2 separate regions of the Homo sapiens genome follow, and region 2 is linked to region 1. The links are contacts of gene promoters, found by promoter capture Hi-C in human tissues and cell types (Jung and others, 2019). All regions are on one chromosome and are shown on one strand. The core of a region is centred on a gene start or on the middle of the fragment in contact, and the rest is flanking DNA. Distances in the headings are between cores, read along the strand shown. Region 1 holds the start of KCNH3 (potassium voltage-gated channel subfamily H member 3). Region 2 overlaps RHEBL1 (RHEB like 1).

The links. Contacts are between HindIII fragments. The study calls those that stand out against the background at their distance.
Region 2: a contact is called between a fragment that was not itself captured here and the fragment with the promoter of KCNH3 in region 1, in 1 of the 25 tissues and cell types used here (dorsolateral prefrontal cortex).

The regions. Positions count from the first base shown.
Region 1 is chr12:49,537,378-49,540,303 of GRCh38, forward strand. It overlaps KCNH3 (potassium voltage-gated channel subfamily H member 3), which reads left to right and starts at 1,653. Exons shown (of 15, transcript NM_012284.3): 1 at 1,653-2,115. The coding sequence starts at 2,040. RefSeq lists silencers at 614-733, 1,464-1,643 and enhancers at 961-1,772, 1,773-2,582. The HindIII fragment of the contact is 20,416 bases long and covers 1-2,926 here.
Region 2 is chr12:49,064,130-49,066,855 of GRCh38, forward strand. It overlaps RHEBL1 (RHEB like 1), which reads right to left. Exons shown (of 8, transcript NM_144593.3): 4 at 2,490-2,572; 5 at 2,347-2,403; 6 at 2,102-2,149; 7 at 1,221-1,302; 8 at 547-1,063. The coding sequence ends at 974. Among named protein-coding and RNA genes, the nearest start is that of RHEBL1, 4.5 kb to the right of the region's middle. The HindIII fragment of the contact is 1,778 bases long and covers 412-2,189 here.

The DNA.
Region 1 (2,926 bases), core at 403-2,902:
AAAAAAAAAAAAAAAAAAAATTCACACAGACCAAAATTAAAAAAAAAATTTAATCACAGGGACAGCAAGTGGCAGACCTGGTTCCCAAGTGGGTGGGTGATTTCAATTGTGGCCTTATCCTGTCTCAAAGTGAACTGACTCCTAAAATGTCCTTCTTTTTAGTAGACAGCTGGACCGCCGCCTGGAGAGGAAGCCTTGAACGGCTGGGGGAGGGGATTACTTTACAGCCAGGATCCAGCCAAGGCTGGGGATGAGATGGGAGTAGGATCTCCCGACTCCTTAGGGTCACTCCTCAGGGTCACTCCTCGTCCTGGGGACCAGATTCCAGGCTTCACAGGACCGGAGAAGGAGGAGCGCGTCCTCCCTTCCCAAAGCGCCAGCTCATTTAGATACAGGTGCCTGGGGCTTTGGCTCTCGTCGCTGATGAGGGGTAGCATCTTTCTGATGCTGGTGACTGTGAGTGCGTCTCGAGGGATGGGGGTGCTGAGCCTACCGCTTCGCTCGTTAGGGAACAAATTGCTGTTTTGGCCCCGGCGGCTCCTCTGGGCGCGGGCGGCAGCCGCGCTCGCTGGCAAATCGTGGGAGGGAGGAGGAGCGGCGCTGGCAGGCAAGTCCGGGGGACCGTCGCAGCGCGGGAGGCCAAGAAAAGACGGCCGCCCCGGGCCCGGCTCCGCCCCGCCGGGAAGGGGCTCCCTGCAGCCGCCCCAGGGCAGCACCCCGCGCGGCGCCGCGCGGAGCTCTCCAGGACGAGCTGCGTGAGGCGCGGGGCTCGGCCTTCCTCGCTCTCCTGGTGCCAGGACCCGCACGCACAAGGTTCGGAAGTTTTTTCGCAGTGTCTGACCCCTGCCGGTCCCCTGTATTTACCACCTGACCCTCTAGCGCGCTTAGGAGAGGCAAGAGGTGACAAATGCCAGAGGGAAATGGAGGGGCAGGACAAGGGGTCTGGCGCTCCCCTCCCCACCACACACCCTTTCCGCCCACGGGGTCACACGGAGGACGTCTGACCCTTACTCCTAGGGCTACCCACCCTCTGGTTTCCAGGCAGCTCCTGCTTGCGGAGACACCTCATAGGAGCAGCTGGATCCATTTTCCAGAGCGTCAAGTTGAGGATGAGAAAGTCTCGAGGGCCGGGCAGCTGTGCGCGCAGAACCCCCGCCCCATCTGCTTTTAGATTTCCCGGGTGCGGCTGGAGCCCCTCTAGAGCGCCGGCCTCCGCTGGCCGCAGGGCCTTCACCTGCGCCTGTCGCCCTGTCCCCTTGCCCACTGCATTTTCCTCGGGGAGAGCATCTTCCACAGCATGCGTCCCCTGCCCCCCACGCCCCGAGCCCCCCTCCCATTCCGCCGGGGGAGGAGAGGCTGCTAGGAGGCTCTCGGAGAGCCCCCGGGCTGCAGAGAAAGACGCCTCCCCTCTGCGGCTGAGGCCGAGTGAGCCAAAGGGGGCCGGCCGCTCGCCAGTGGTTCTCCGAGGTACGGGCGGGGAGGCCCGCGGGGTGGGATCAGGGCGGCCGCCACCTCCCCGCCCCCGCCGAGGTCCCGAAGGGAGGGGAGCCCTCCGCGGGAGGCCTGTCCCTTTAAGGAGGCGGCCCTGGCTGGGTGTGCCCCGTCTCCATGGTTACCCCGGTGCAGGCGGCGGGCGCGGGAGGGAGGGAGGGAGGCTGCAGCTTCTCCCCGACAGACGGAGGGAGCTGCCGAGAGCCGGCGCCGAGCGAAGCCGAGCGGAAGCCCACCCGCAGCCGACACGCGAGCCGCTGCCGCGGCGGGAGGTGCTGAGAGCGCGGCGGCCGCGGGGCCTGGAGCCCGGGATTTGTGGGCGGCGAGGGCGCGAGGGGCCGCGCGCCATGCTCCGGGCCCCGACGGCGCGGACGCCCCCTCGCGCGCCAGCGTCCGGCGCGACCCCGGATCCCGGTCTGCGCATTGCCCCCCGACGGCTGCGCTAGGGAGCGCGGGGCCCGGCGGGGGGCGGCCGAGCTGGGCGCCCTCCCCCGGCGCGGAGTCCCCGCACCCCGGAGGGATGGGGCGGGCAGCCGCGGGCGCCTAAGATGCCGGCCATGCGGGGCCTCCTGGCGCCGCAGAACACCTTCCTGGACACCATCGCTACGCGCTTCGACGGCACGCGTGAGTCCGACCCTCGCCCACTTGCACCCGGGCCGCCGGACCCTCGCCAGGGCTCCCGCCTTCCCCGAACCCCCAGCAGCCCAGCTTGGCGCCAGCCTATTCTCACCCTCTCCTCCCTACCCGCCCCTCTTGAGGCTGGGGCCATCGTCTCCTGCTAGGCGCTGTTTCCCCGAAGGTTCGAAGGTTCGGGGTCAACACTGCTTCAGGCGAGGCAACAGGGCCAGAAGTCCCTGGGTGTGGGTCCTGGGATGCTCTCTGTTAGCCGGGTCTCGAACCCGAACCTAGTCAGTCTGACCCATCCCACCCCTGCGTCTGGCGCTGTCGCAGCAACTACCCTCGGACTGGTGGGGTAAGGCGAGGCGGGTGAACAGTGCTCAGGGACAGCTGAGAGGGCTCAAAACACAGATTTAGAAAAGAGATTTGCAAACGGAGATAAGAGTAGGCGGCACTCGGGAGAGCACCGTGTGTCCAAGCCCCGTGTCTCATAGCCTGAACCCCCTAGACTTGGGGAGGCCATCTAGCCCCAAGAAGATGGTTTGGGGACTCCCATCAGGACTGGGGAAGTTTGGAGAAGGCGCCCCGAGCTCTGGATCCCCGGTTCTGGGGGCTCTGAGCACAGGGGAAGTGATGAAAGCCCCTCCCTCCTCCTCTCCCTCACATCCCCCGTGGGGCTTCCCAGCTCTCTGCCTAGGTCCTCCTTGGTCTCCGGTTCCTGATAGGGGGTGGGAGCCCAGCCCTGCGCTCTCCCCACTCCGGGCTCCTCCATCTGCTTTGCCAGTGTGCTTGGCTCCTGCAGCCTGCTGATTCAGTG
Region 2 (2,726 bases), core at 51-2,550, 470 kb before region 1:
GGATCTTGAAAGGCTACAAAACTTGGATGGGAGTGGCAGCCAACTGGACTTAGTATATGAGGAACCCAGCAGAATAGAAAGGTGGGAAAGGCAAGTAGTAAATCTTAGGATAATGGTCCTTAATAAGTGAGGAATAAGGAATAGGAACAAGGTAGGAGGAAAGATATCCCACCAAAGACCACAGCCATCACTCCTTGGAAAAAGAGATCTTGGCTCTGAGCTCTCACTAGATACATAGAAGTCAACAATAAAATAAGGCCGGGGGCAGTGGCTCACGCCTGTAATCCCAGCACTTTGGGAGGCTGAGGTGGGTGGATCACTTAAGGTCAGGAGTTCGAGACCATCCTGGCCTAGGTGAAACCTCATCTCTACTAAAAATAAAAAAGTTAGCTAGGCATGGTGGCGGGTGCCTGCAGAAGACTGAGGCAGGAGAACTGCTTGAACCTGGGAGGCGGAGGTTGCAGCGAGCCAAGATTGCAGCACTGCACCACTCCAGCCTGGGCAACAGAGTGAAACTCCGTCTCACACACACACACGAAAAAGAAGTCAACAACAAAAGATTTCTCAATTTATTTGCATATATACATTGTCACCCCAGGGAGCCAGCTCTATTTCAGAAGTCCCCGGCTCCCCTTACCCAGCCAACACCCAAAACCCACCCAAGAGGATGGGTCCTGGATAAATAATGCCCAGGACTCATATCCTGACCCCATAGGTTATAACAGAATTCATCAAACAAAAACAGAGGGCTAGAGGCCAGTGTCCATGAGAGGTCCTTGCCCCTTTGTAAACATTGACATCCAGGCCACTGGAGCCTGGGGAAAGTGTGCAAACATGAGGATGCCACACTGTGTGTCCAGGGGCCAGGAACACAGCTGGCAACCATACCCGTGAAGTCCTGAGGATCTGCCCCCCACTGGAACATGGCAAGTGCCGGGGGCAGAAGCAAGGCAGTTACCCCACACCCAAGGGCTCACATGAGATGGCAGCGACGCTCTTGCCCATAGGAATTCTCCACACGGGCAATCTCCTGGATGACTTTGGTGAAGATGCCTTGAGTCAGCTATAAGAGGAGAGGATTCAGGGCAAAAGTCAGTTCAGTGCCAATACCACCCAGCTCTGGGGTGAAAGCCCCATTCCCGCAACATTCCCACCACCAAGCAGTACAATAAGGAAAACACAGCTACCATCACCACCCTTCTAGTCTTCAGGCCCAGCACCTGATTCTCTCGAGCAGATGACTCCATAAATGTCGCACCCCAGGACTCTGCCAGCTTCTTTCCTTCAACTGCCTGTACCTCTCTGGAAGCAAATTTGGGACATAAAGATGGAGGATAGAAATGTCAGTAAGTGCTCTGAAAAATCTTCAGAATCAAGACTTCCTGGCCAGGCACAGTGGCTCATGCCTGTAATGCAGCACTTTGGGAGGCCGAGGTGGTGGATCACTTGAGCTCAGGAGTTCAAGACCAGCCTGGACAACACAGGGAAACACCATCTCTATTAAAAAAAAAATGGGCCACACGCGGTTGCTTGTGCCTGTAATCCCGATACTTTGGGAGGCCTAGGCGGGTGGATCACAAGGTCAGGAGATCGAGACCATCCTGGCTAACATGGTGAAACCCCGTCTCTACTAAAAATACAAAAAATTAGCTGGGCGTGGTGGCACGCGCCTGTAGTCCCAGCTACTTGGGAAGCTGAGGCAGGAGACTCGCTTGAACCCGGGAGGCAGAGGTTGCAGTGAGCCGAGATCACACCACTGCACTCCAGCCTGGGCAACAGAGCAAGACTCCGTCTAAAAAAAAAAAAAATAGAGAAGAAAAAGACTTTCTCTGACCCATGCCATTTCCCCAAGTTTTGGGAGGAGGGCTGTGGAAGGAGAAAATATAGGTAAACAAAGGAACAATGGGTGAATCTAGGACTGAGGCTTGAAATATGAAATTGTGGCTTTTAAGATAGAAGTATTATCTTCCTTAAGCTTCAGGTTAGAGACAAAGAGAGGTGAAATGACTTGTTTGAGTCAGTGGAAGAGCCAGGATGAGAGCCTGACTGATTCCCAGTCCATTTCACTTCCTTTTGCTCTGAGTAGCAGAGATTTACATACCTCTCTGGAGAGAGATCTGCCTTGTTCCCCACTAGAACCACTGGCACCCTGTGAGGAAACAGCAGTTACTTCAGAATCCCCTCATTCCCCGCATTCCCCAACTCCTTACATCAAGGCTGGACGACTCCTTATCAGACCAGGCAGGATCTATATCCGAGCCTCCTCTCTAACTTGACAATTCTCCCCTCTGCTCTCTCCCACCCCCTCATGCCCACACTATGTCCCTATCCCCCAGGGCCACTTACCGGGTTTTCCCATGGCCTTCATGTAGCTTTTGGTACAGACTCTCAATGACTTGGAAGCTTTAAACACAAGAATTGGAGCTATAACTTTATGAGACAGTCCTCAGGTTCTCCCAAGTCCCGCACTCACAACCTTGGTCACTTACCTATGCAGAGAGGTGACAGAATACACAAGCACATAACCATGGACCCCAATGATGAATGAATAGGGCAGAATGCTGTACTCATCCTGGCAAGAAATGGGAAACATCAGTACCTAGATCCAAACCACTAAGATGGCAAAGGTTGGTGGGACAACATCCAGGTGACCCTCCCTGGGGCACGCCCTACTATAGTCACTTCAACATGTATTTATGGAACAGCTCCAATGAGCCCTGCATACT